Linked DNA regions of Homo sapiens: region 2 is linked to region 1. The links are contacts of gene promoters, found by promoter capture Hi-C in blood cells and fetal thymus (Javierre and others, 2016). All regions are on one chromosome and are shown on one strand. Each heading gives the region's core, a stretch centred on a gene start or on the middle of the fragment in contact. The rest is flanking DNA. Distances are from core to core; before and after follow the strand shown. Region 1 holds the start of TP53TG1 (TP53 target 1). Region 2 overlaps CLDN12 (claudin 12).

Region 1 (5,959 bases), core at 1,108-3,607:
TATATTTTGTTTAGTAAGAAGGTATTTTTTTCTGAGATGCAAAAACATCATAGTTATCTTAACTCTTCCCCTCAGATTTTGGTGGCAACTTTTCATGTACTGTAAATATCATCAAAAGCAACCCCAAATCAATGATTAGTACTAAAAAGAGACCTTTTGTATCAAACACTGTTCATCTGCTGTTGGCAGTGGAGTTCATTTTTAATGCTACATTGCCCTCTTTGCGTCCAGTGTACTTTAATTTGCTGTTGGCTGCTTCCCAAAATGACCATATTTCTACTGCCCCCCCATTAAAAAGAAGAAACATCACAAAATTATTTCTTCAACATGTTCATTTTATACATCAGAATGAAAGGAGGTTACAGGTCTCCCATAGATTAGGGCTATTTACCATATCTCCTTACTTATTAGAGTCACAAATCTTAGCAGGAAGCCAGTTATGCAGATTGAAACATGAACTTCTTAGTCTAGCATTTTAATACTTTTTAATGGTGAAATTTATCTAGACTTATCTATAAAGTCTTTTGCAATTTGTGGTATGCTGAGTAAGAACTACAGAAGAACAAAAATAAAAGATTTTTTTAATGGCAACTTAAAAAATTATCACCACTTGTACTACTTACAAATTTTCCTCCAAAAAGTTACTTTGACTCATAGTCAATTTTTAATCTTGGAACAACTTCTTGCTATCACAAATACTTCAAGTGCCTAAAACATCTTCCTTACCAGCCAATATCTCCCGCTCCACTCTAAGAAATGCAAACTCGTTCAAGTTTAACCTGAATGCAACATAATTTGGAATCTTTCATTAAAATATATATCACACATTTTGAAGCCAAACATATTTTAAAATACCTGTTTTTGGTGATTTGGGGTACATATGCTTATCAGTATAACATATTTTAAAAGATTTTTTTCTACATACTCAAATCTGTGTTCCATTCATTTTTTCACTCCCACACCTTTTTGTCTATCCGATAATTCAGGAATCTTTACAGAAACATCTTGTTTCCATTGAAATAAACAACAAGAGTAGGAAAAAGAGTGAAGCGAAATGGTTCTAAATTCTATGCACCAACAGGCATTAAACATGCATAAACTTTTAAAGAGATGCCAAGACTCACTAAAAAGGAGAAAAAAAATACAACGAAGGTTTCTGAGTAGTTTTTAGTTACTCAATTTAAAAACTTTATCTTGTAAGCAAACTTTAACATCATCCAGAGCATCGCACTTATATATGAAAGAAAAAGTTCTTTATCACACCTTCAGAAATTACAACTACAAATTCCTAATCCCTTATTTAAAATCTTTTTGGCTAGATATGTTTCAAAATTCAGAACTTTTCTTAGAATAGTACGTCTGCCATATATTATGAAACACTTCCAGCAAGCTGTACTGTAATCAAACACAATATTTCTGTAGAAAACTTATGAATATTTACACAAAGGGAACATTCAGTTACACATAGCCTCACTTCCCTTCAGGTCAAACTTTACTGCTAAAGGAGTTAGAAACGACAGACAAAGGAATGGGGCCTGTCATGACATGTTAATTTGAAATCTAAATCTTTATCTTTGATAACTAGTTCAGAGTCAGTGTAAACATTTGGTCTTTCCTTCCACAAAAAAATGAAACAGTGTATTTAAAATTAAAAATGAAACAGTATATTTTATTTCAGAAGGTAAAAGCAAAATGAATTAATCTGTGAAACTAAGTCAATCACATTATGATCTTCTAGAACTTGGGTAGCTCCACTCTGGTTAAAGATTCCATTTCTTGGCACAACAGTAAAAGACATCAGATAGGCCCGGGGGTAAGCATCCCTGGGGTATTCAAATAACTTGGGTAGCAATGAAGAGCTGCAGAAGAGCAAGGAGACCCGAGATGATGTAGTGTGCTGCGGCATACCTGAGTTGGGCAAACTCAGCCTCCGAAGATTAAAGGAAAGAGCCCAAGTAGGAATCTGTGTGATCACTGTTCTTTTGCCAAGACACGGGGTGGACAATAAGATTCCTTTACAAAGCACTGGTGTAAGTGTTCGCCTGGTGCTGCAAAAAGCGGCTCACTGGGAATGGGGAGGAGCGTGTGGTAAGCCAGACCTGCGGCGAGAAGTTGGGTGAAAATGGGTCTTAACCATCGCTTCCTGCATCTATCCCAGAGGGTTGGGTACCTTCGTGGGCGGAGCGCGGCCTGCCCAGAGTGCCTTCTAGATCCTGGGTCAGGCGCCAAGCTCCCCAGCATCATGCAGGAAGCTGCAGCCCCGCAGAGTTAGGACAGCTCATTTGGCACCCGGCGAGCCCTTCCCAGGCCCGCAGCCCAGAATAGAGCCGGGGCCCAAGACGCCCACTGGAGACAGGGTCGGGTCCCACTACCGCGCAGGCCCGGCTCGCCCCCGACGTCAGGCACGGGGCGGGACCCTTGCAGCTGTCCGTCCAGTCCCGTTCCCCGGAAAGTGAGGGGCGGGACCCTCGCGGCTTTCTATCCAATCCTGTTCCCCGGCGAATGCGGGGCGGGACCCTAGCGGCCTTCAGTCCAATTCCCGCACCTTTGAGGCCCAAGGGGGAGCGAGCCGGTGCTGCTGCAGGCTGAGGCTGCGGCAGAGGCGGCGAGGCGCGGGCGGTGAGGACGGACAGGTCCGTTGAAGCAGCATTCCCTCCCTCCCCTAATCCTTCAACTCGGGGGCGGGGGAAAGTTAAGTCGTGCAGAACCGCAAAGGTGCCTGGATTTGGTGGGGGAGTAGTGTCATCAAGCATCTCGCCTGCTGGGGTCTCAGGGGTACCCTCAAGGTTGGGCCGCGGGGCTGCTCCGTTGTAGTGCTTAGATTTCTCTCACTTGATGGCCTCTTGAGTGCAGAGTTGCTCTTGGGTTGGTGGGAAGAGCCTCCGAGCTCTCATTGCCCTCTGCTCCTGCTTCTACCCCTTGCCACTCTGCGACGAACCTGTTACCCAGCCACTGAAAACGTATCCTCTACCCTTTGAACCCGTCTAATGGAAGGTGTACTTGTCTGAAACCTACTTAATTGTATGATCATTTACTCCTGCTCTCTAGCAGGTGGACTATTTGCGTGTGTTTGCAGTGATTCACGAAAAGTTTGTCTTGGGAACTCCCAACTCCTAGTTTGTCTGCATTCCACCTTCTTTCACTAGCTTGTTCATTTCTTTTTCCCTCTTAAATATTTGTTAAGCTTGTTTCTTTCTTCCCACAGTCACCGACTTAGTCCAGTTCCCTGTGATCTCAAAACAATTGTTGCAGCAGGCTCCTGGCAGTCTCAAGCAGTTCATCTTCTTGGTGTACTGGTATGTGACAATTCCTTCACGTATTGTTCGTGGTTCTTTTCCACTTTCTGTGAATTCATATCTAATTGCCCCCAGAAAGTCAATTCTAATTAAATCTAGCATAATCATTTTCTTAGTGCTATTGGAACCATCTTATTTAACTTAATCTTTGTGGTTGAGAATTCAAGAAAACTCTTCAAGAAAGAATCCAATAATTTATATTTTTAATGTGTACCGGTTGGTGGGTTAAGCACTATAGTGGGTATGTAACTAATACTCTTGCTTCCAGTTTTCTAGAGTCTATTAAGTGGCACAGAGGTAAACAGAATAGCTTATCTTCTCTGTATGTGTGTACTAGTCTTCTATTGCTGCCTTAACCAATTACACAAATGCAACAATTAAAACAACACAAATGTATTATCTCATAGCTTCTGTAAATGTGAAGTTTGGGTGGGCTTAGCTGAGTACTTGGCTTAGAATTTCACAAAACCGAAACCAAGGTTTCTGTAGATTTGGATTCTTTTCTGGAGGCTCTAGGGGAGAATCCACCTCCAGGCTATTTCAGATTGTTGGTAGAATTCACACTGACATTTCTATATCCTTACTGTTTGTCAGCCTGAGCCTCTTTCAGTTCTTTAAGGCCATCTGCATCTTCAAAGACACCACAAATCCTTCTCAAGCATTAAAGCAGTCTTACTTGTCTGCCACTGGCCAGAGAAAGCTCTTTGCTCTTATGGACTCAAGTGATTAGATTAGTTCCAATTCGATAATATCCCTATTTTAAGGTCAGTTCTGTAGAGAATATCACAATCACAGGAGTAATGATCTCACCATATTCGCAGGTTCTGGGGATTAGCAGGGGTGGAATCTTGGGGGCCATTCATAGTAATTGTGCCTACCACAATATGGTGGTTTCAGGCAGGATTATTTTGTTTTTATAATGTGCTTTCACAGGCATTGAAAACAAATTCTGACTTTATTGAATTGTATGATTAACCACTCTAAGATAAGGAAATTCACTTAAAGTTGGTTGCCCTAGGGGCACATGGCTAGAAAGTGGCAGAGTCTGTACTTGGATCCAGATCTACATTTCCATTAGGTACAAACCCATTTTTATGGATGGTCAAAATGGTGTGCAGCCAAAGTCAATAGATAGAAAGAAGCTAAAGAACTTTGAGTTAATTATTATTTCTCATTTTCAAATTATCTCTTTATATTAGTGGTACAGGCTAAGCTCTTCTCCCTACAATAGAAAGCCCAAAATACAATGGTATGAATAAAATAGAAGTTTTTTTTTTTCCATACATCTAGAGGTAGGAGTCCAGGACTAGTAGGGAGATTCTGCAATCCTGCATATATGACTTCCATAAATGAGGCCATGGTGCTGTTTAGTTCGTCACTACCTAGCAGGTAGTAAAAAGGAGGGAAAGTGCAGGGAGAACACATGCATTCCTTTTTGGGAGCATGACCTGGAAGTGACACACACAAGGTCATCACAAAGCCACACTGAGCTCCAAGAGAGGGTAGGAAAGATAAAACTGGGGGCTGTATGCACAGCTACAACTCAGGATTCTGTTAAAGCAGAGGAAAACAGGTATTAGCTGAAAATAGTCTCTTCTGTGTCCATGTTTTTGATAGTGTTCGATTCTGTAACCTATGAGTGGAATACTTTGTTTAGCGTTGCTATCAGTTTTAAAAAATAGTTTTTGAGAGAATAGGAAGTTCAAATTCAATATTAACGTTCTTTGATTTCTCAGTTGCTATTTTAACATATAATTACATTTAATATATTACATTATTTAATATAATTAATATATGATAATTTACAAAGGCTTTGAGAAACCTCATTTTTTATTTAGCATTTGTATACCTTATTCACATTTTGAGTTAGATTTCTTTGATAGCAATTAATACACGTGTCAATATGTTCAAGATTGCTTTGGAACACTTGAGACCATTCTGTGTAGACCTCATACGACCTGTGCAATTAAAGCAGCTTGTCATATGATTTATGTATTCTATAATAATCTTTAATTCTACAGTTGGACACTTCCACACCTCTTTGTACTTTGTGCTCCAAAGTTTTCTATATCAATGCAATATCAACACATAATCCTTTTCTATACATCAAATACTATCTACCCACTAAGATTTACTGCAGGTTCCCTTACCTTCTATCATGTTGTTTTGTATAGGGGAAAGATTGTAGTCTTAACAGATCTGGGTTTGGGTCCTGTGTTTGACATTAGGTAAGTTACTAAATTTCTGAGTTTTGATATATTCATATGTAAAATTGCAAAGAATGCCACCTTTCAGAGATAACATAAAAGTTAGAGAGCTAACACATGTTTTCTGTAATGCAAACTGGAGTACCTGGCAAATGCTAGGTGTTCAATAAATGGTAACTAATTATACCAGTCCCACTGATCACTCTTTACTTCTAGCACTTTGTGTCTACACATTCTTTTTAAGTTGGTTTTCTCTATCTGACAGATTTATAAATTTCATAAAAGCTGGTACCAAGTCCTAGATATGCTGTGGTCCCTAAATACTGGTTTAGTGAATTGTGAATTGTACCTAGGATACGTAACACTATCTATGAGATTGAAGTTGTGAGGGCTCTCTCTCTTTTCTTTAGGTTTCCTATTGTGATTTTATCATGGAAAATCAATTGGCTAAATCAA
Region 2 (5,373 bases), core at 1,430-3,929, 3.1 Mb after region 1:
TGACCTCACTTAAAATGATTGCTCAAGGATTCTATTGTGCGTTATTAATTGTAAAACGATTTCCTCTGACTTTGGAGTGTGCAATTATGATTGATACCAACCCAAGAAACACATTTGGGGCGGGGGAGGGGTTGGGGGGGACTTGACTGAAATCTCCGAGCAGCCAGTTGCAGAGAGCATTCTACATAATGATCGTAATAGGGCTAGTGATGAACGCCTCAATCCAGGAAACTCTCAGGCGCACATAATAATGAGTTTCCATTCTCATCCTACCTGTTTGAGATAAATGGTATTTGAAGAGGAAGTGGCTAATGTTTAAAGTAGATATATAGAAGCATCTTTAAGTATCAGGTTGAGCCATTGGTGGAACTATTTTTTTTTTAAGCATTCTGGTTGCAAATTTCAGGATGCAGAATTCAGATCAACTTTGTCTGGTCTTGTTGTCAGTGTCCTTTTTTAAAAATGTAAAAGAAAATTTCTTTTACTTCCAAGACAACTGCACAGTCTTTCACCACCTTCCTTATCCTTTCACCGTAGTCATGAAAATGATCTAAAACATTCATTAAATATCAATCATATATTCCCAAGACAGCAAAGTGTTTTTCATCCTCATTTCTCCTATATTCTCAAGTCACAAGATGAGTTAATTTTTTTCTTCTATTTCTACGTATTTTTCTATATTCTATATATTTCTCATATATAATGCATGAATTAAGGAATAAACAGCCTTTTTATTTTTTTTTTTTTATTATTTGAGACAGATCATTGCTATGTCATCCAGGCTGGAGTGCAGTGGCATGATCATGACTCACTGTGTCCTCAAACTCCTGGGCTCAAGTGATCCTTCCATGTCAGCCTCCCAAGAAACTGGGACAACACGTGTGCACCATCACACCTGGCTAATTATTATTATTATTATTTTTTGAGCCAGAATCTCTCTCTGTCACCAACACTGGAGTGCAGTGGTGCAATCTCAGCTCACGGTAACCTCCACCTCCCAGGTTCAAGCGGTTCTTGTGCCTTAACCTCCCACATGGCTGGGACTATAGGCATGAGCCACCATGCCCAGCTAATTTTTGTATTTTTAGGAGAGATGGGGTTTTGCCATGTTGGCCAGGCTGGTCTTGAACTCGGGCTCAAGTGATCATCCCGCCTCAGCTTCCCAAAGTGTTGGGATTACAGGTGTAAGCCACTGTGCCCCTGCTAAACTGCCTTTTTAAAAAACTTACTGTCTGCCCTTTTTAGTATAACATTTCATTGGTTTTAGGTGATTACTAATCATTTCTTCTAATCCATGGGAATTCAAGCAGGGTTTTTAGAGAAGTACTATGTTAATTTGGAGTATTTTTCCTATTTCTTTAGGCTCAGATTATTGCTACTCTGTATTCAGATCTTCATGTGTCTCTTCTAAGCTGAATAAAGCTGTTTTGGAACTGTCAGGTACCTCAAAGCGTAAGTACGTCCTTTAATTATATCTTATTTCCCTCCCTCCTGCTACCACATCTGCCAACAATGACTCTTTTTTTTTCTCTTGTTCAACAAAATAGAGGTATAGGACAGACCTCTCTTGTGAGTACAATGACTGATGACTTACAGTTTCTAAGAAAACCCAAATTATAGGTAGAAGGAACTCTCAATGTTACCATCAAGAATTAAGTTAGGGCTGGGCATGGTGGCTCAGCCCTGTAACCCTAGCGCTTTGAGAGGCTGAGGTGGAAGGATCCCTTGAGCCCAGGAGTTTGAGACCATCCTGGGCAACATAGCGAGATCCTGACTGTATGAGAAAATTTTAAAAAATTAGCCAGTTGTGGTGGTACATGCCTATAGTCCCAGCTACTCTGGAAGCTGAGGTGGGAGGATTGCTTGAGCCTCGGAGGTCGAGGCTGCAGTGAGCCATGATTGCACCACTGTGCTCCAGCCTGGGTGAGAAAGCGAGACCCTGTCTCAAAAAAATAGAAGCTAGCTGCTATTAGACATATGTACTCTCGTAACTCTTGTAACTATAACTCAGAATTGTGCCTGGAAAAAATAGTACAGGGTCTATTGGATACATGACTTCCTAAAGCTCTTAGCCACTGTTCCTGCTCCAGCCTTCTTTAAATTCTATTCAAAACCACAGAAAATATATAATTTGAAAATATTTTTATTCGTAATTATGTCTCTGATAACATTTAATTGTGTATCAAATTTTATCTACTTTTCTGAGTCACGGTGGAACAGAGAGTCAAATGACAAATGTGAAGTGGTTATTTGAAATAGAGTCTCTATTTGATTTGGTCAGTATCTCCAAAGAGAATGTTCTGTCCTTCTTGTTATATGACTATAACCATCTGTAGTCATTTGCTGAGGGTCCAGAAGAAAAGTATGTTTCTAGCTGAAAAAAGTAAATAAGCCTGCTAATAATCATTACTGACTTACATTTCTGACCATATTCTGGTTTACAAAGGACTTTGCTATTCATGATTTTACTACTTTGTGGGACACTTTACAGATGAAAAATTGGAGGTTCAGAGGACATAAGTGACTTGTCCAGTTTGTAAATGATAGGTTATGAATGTTATTCAGGTCTTTGGTCTCCTGGACAACAATACCAAGCAGCCTCCTGGATGGAAACAACAAACCACTTATGTGTATGTATGACCTAGCTCAAAGCTCTCATCCAGCTAGTACTCATGACTGCTTGACAGATTTGTTAAAGTGTTCTTAGCCTTGCACGTTTTCCACAGTCCCTAATTAGGGATTTTCACATGGCAAAAAGATGTTTTTTTTTCTCCATTAAAAAAACTATATATTGTTTAGCTTTAATAAATATTAATTTGATATATTAACCACTCTTAAGAGAAGTATGTCTAATTCATGACATACCTGTTAAGTTGAAAACAGAAAAATCAATACCGGAACAGTGGACTTTTTGTTTTTGAAATGGAGTCTCGGGGTTTCACCATATTGGCCAGGCTAGTCTCAAACTCCTGACCTCGTGATCCACCCACCTCGGCCTCCCAAAGTGCTGGGATTACAGGCATGAGCCACCACGCCGCGCCAGGAATAATTGACTTTCAAACCATTTGTTGAAGTTAGACAGTGTTGCTAAACCTAGATATATATTTCTAGAATCATAGTCTGCATGTAGGTACCTAAGGATGGCCTTGTCTTTGCTAATCACAGGTTTCTGGGGTAAGAAAATGAATGTTGTTTTGTAAAATGGGAGTCTTTTGGCCAAAAAGGAGAAAGCAGGGGCACAGTCTAGAAACAGTCTGGATGTATCAGAACACAGGGTGGTGTGAATTCTCTCAAATGAAGTGAATGGAACTGAGACTAAATTTCTGTCTGTATTCTGACCAGAGTTATACAGAACCTCCATTTGTTTGTTCATTCATTCAGCAAATAATCGAGTGCCTTTTATGTGCCAGTATAGGGAACAGTGAACAAAACAAAGGGATCTCTGTCCCTGGAATTCACAGTCTGATGGGAAAGAAAACTACACTGAACAAGGAGTTATAAGAATGATCACTGCTACAGAAGAAAAAGTGCAAAAGTGCTACCACAGCATATAACCAGGGACAGGGGGAGGTTTAGGACAAGCCTCCCTGGACACTAGAAGAATGAGTAAATATTAGCCAAGCAAAGAATAGGTTGGAATTAAGAAAGTTCTAGGAGAAAGACCATGAGGGAAGGCCCTTAACCAAATCAGAAAGTGGAAAATTTGGGAAGTCAAAAGAAATGTGGTTTGGCTGCATAGACTGTAGTGTGTGGGGTGGGAGAGTGGCACATACGAAGGTTGAGAATTTGGTAGGAATCAGGTGGTGTAAGCTATGGGGAGGAGTTGAAACTTTAGAGATTTTATTCTGTGGGAAATGGGAACTTATTGAATGGTAAGAAATGGAATGGCGGATGAGGTTTGCATTTGAAAAAAATTATTGTGGATTAAAACTAATTGACACAGCACAAGAGTAGAGGTCTTTTTACCCTTGCAAGTATGAACAAATCCTAATCGGGAAGTCAGCATTATCTTTGTTTTAAAACATCAAACATATTCTTTCCCCAAACTATCCTATAAAATTTTACTTCAGGCATGGTGGCTTACTTTTGTAATCCCAGCCCTTTGAAAGGTGGAGGTGGGGGGATTGCTTGAGCCCAAGAGTTCAAGACCAGCCTGGGCAACACAGCAAGACCCCATCTCTAGGGAAAACTTAAAAATTAGTCTGGCATGGTGGCATGCACCTGTTATCCCAGCTACTCAGGAGGCTGAGGCAGGAGGATTACTTGAGCCCAGGATCTCAGCTCACTGAAATCTAGTGAGCTGTGATCATGCCCTGCACTCCAGCTTGGGTGATAGAGTAAGACCCTGTCTTAAAAGAAATTACTTTATCTCTCTGGTGGGATATATGACTTATCAAATCATAGGCATTTGAAATTAAGAACAGGGCATACAAGGTGAAGTAGCCAAAAGAAGCTAGACATTAATTCCAGTATCAGGCCAAAATTTAGCTTAAGAATTAAGGTTAATAGTACTTCCCTTCTGAAAAAGTGCCGTGGTATCCTTGTTGACTCTGTATAGATAGGCCTCTGTCCATCCCTGAGATCTGAGCTAAGAATGCTTCATCAAAGGCAATTTCAGAGAACCAATATAATATTTGTATTGATTTGATGCAGAATATAGTTAAAAGCACTTACTACTGAAATATATATTGTCGTACCTCTCTTCATTAATGTCATTTGATAGTCTATAGGCTAAGAATTATAGGAATTTATTTATTTTTCTTAATAATTAATTTTTCTTTTTTTTGTAGAGATGGGGTCTCGCTATGTTGCCCAATCTGGTCTCAAACTCCTGGGCTCAAGCTATCCTCCCACCGCAGCCTCCCCAAGTGCTGGAATTACAGGCATGAGCCACAGCACCTGGCCTGGAATTTATTAATAATGGAGTTATACATCCTGATCTTGTTTCTCACTCCATTTACATTTCAGGAATCAGTGTTACAGGGCAGTTTGATTGGAGAAATCTCAATTACATTGAAATTCCAATTATTTCTATACTACTTTTGTTTTTTGTTCCTGTTTGTTTGTTTGTTTGTTTGTTTTGAGACAGAGTCTCGTGCTCTGTCACCCAGACTGGAGTGCAGTGGTGTGATCTGGCTCACTGCAACCTCCACCTCCTGGGTTCAAGCGATTCTCCTGCCTCAGCCTCTTGAGTAGCAGGGATTACAGGCACGTGCCACCATGCCTGGCTAGTTTTTGTATTTTTAGTAGAGATGGGGTTTCACCATGTTGACCAGGCTGGTCTGAAACTCCTGACCTCAAGTGATCTACCAGCCTTGGCCTCCCAAAGTGCTGGGATTTCAGGCATGAGCCAATTCGCCCAGCCAGTATATT

What was found. The method cuts DNA at HindIII sites, captures the fragments that hold promoters and counts their contacts. A CHiCAGO score of 5 or more calls a contact.
Region 2: a fragment that was not itself captured here is called in contact with the fragment with the promoter of TP53TG1 in region 1 in 1 of 17 cell types (non-activated CD4 T cells); the score reaches 5.7 in non-activated CD4 T cells.

Annotation. Positions count from the first base shown.
Region 1 is chr7:87,343,135-87,349,093 of GRCh38, forward strand. TP53TG1 (TP53 target 1) reads right to left here and starts at 2,358. Exons shown (of 3, transcript NR_015381.1): 1 at 1,909-2,358. CROT (carnitine O-octanoyltransferase) reads left to right here and starts at 2,530. Exons shown (of 18, transcript NM_021151.4): 1 at 2,530-2,633; 2 at 3,206-3,296; 3 at 5,914-5,959. The coding sequence starts at 5,935. RefSeq lists a silencer at 2,346-2,555. The HindIII fragment of the contact is 3,653 bases long and covers 1-3,182 here.
Region 2 is chr7:90,404,157-90,409,529 of GRCh38, forward strand. CLDN12 (claudin 12) reads left to right here. Exons shown (of 4, transcript NM_001185072.3): 2 at 1,363-1,452. Among named protein-coding and RNA genes, the nearest start is that of CLDN12, 3.4 kb to the left of the region's middle. RefSeq lists an enhancer at 1-10. The HindIII fragment of the contact is 5,522 bases long and covers 1-5,373 here.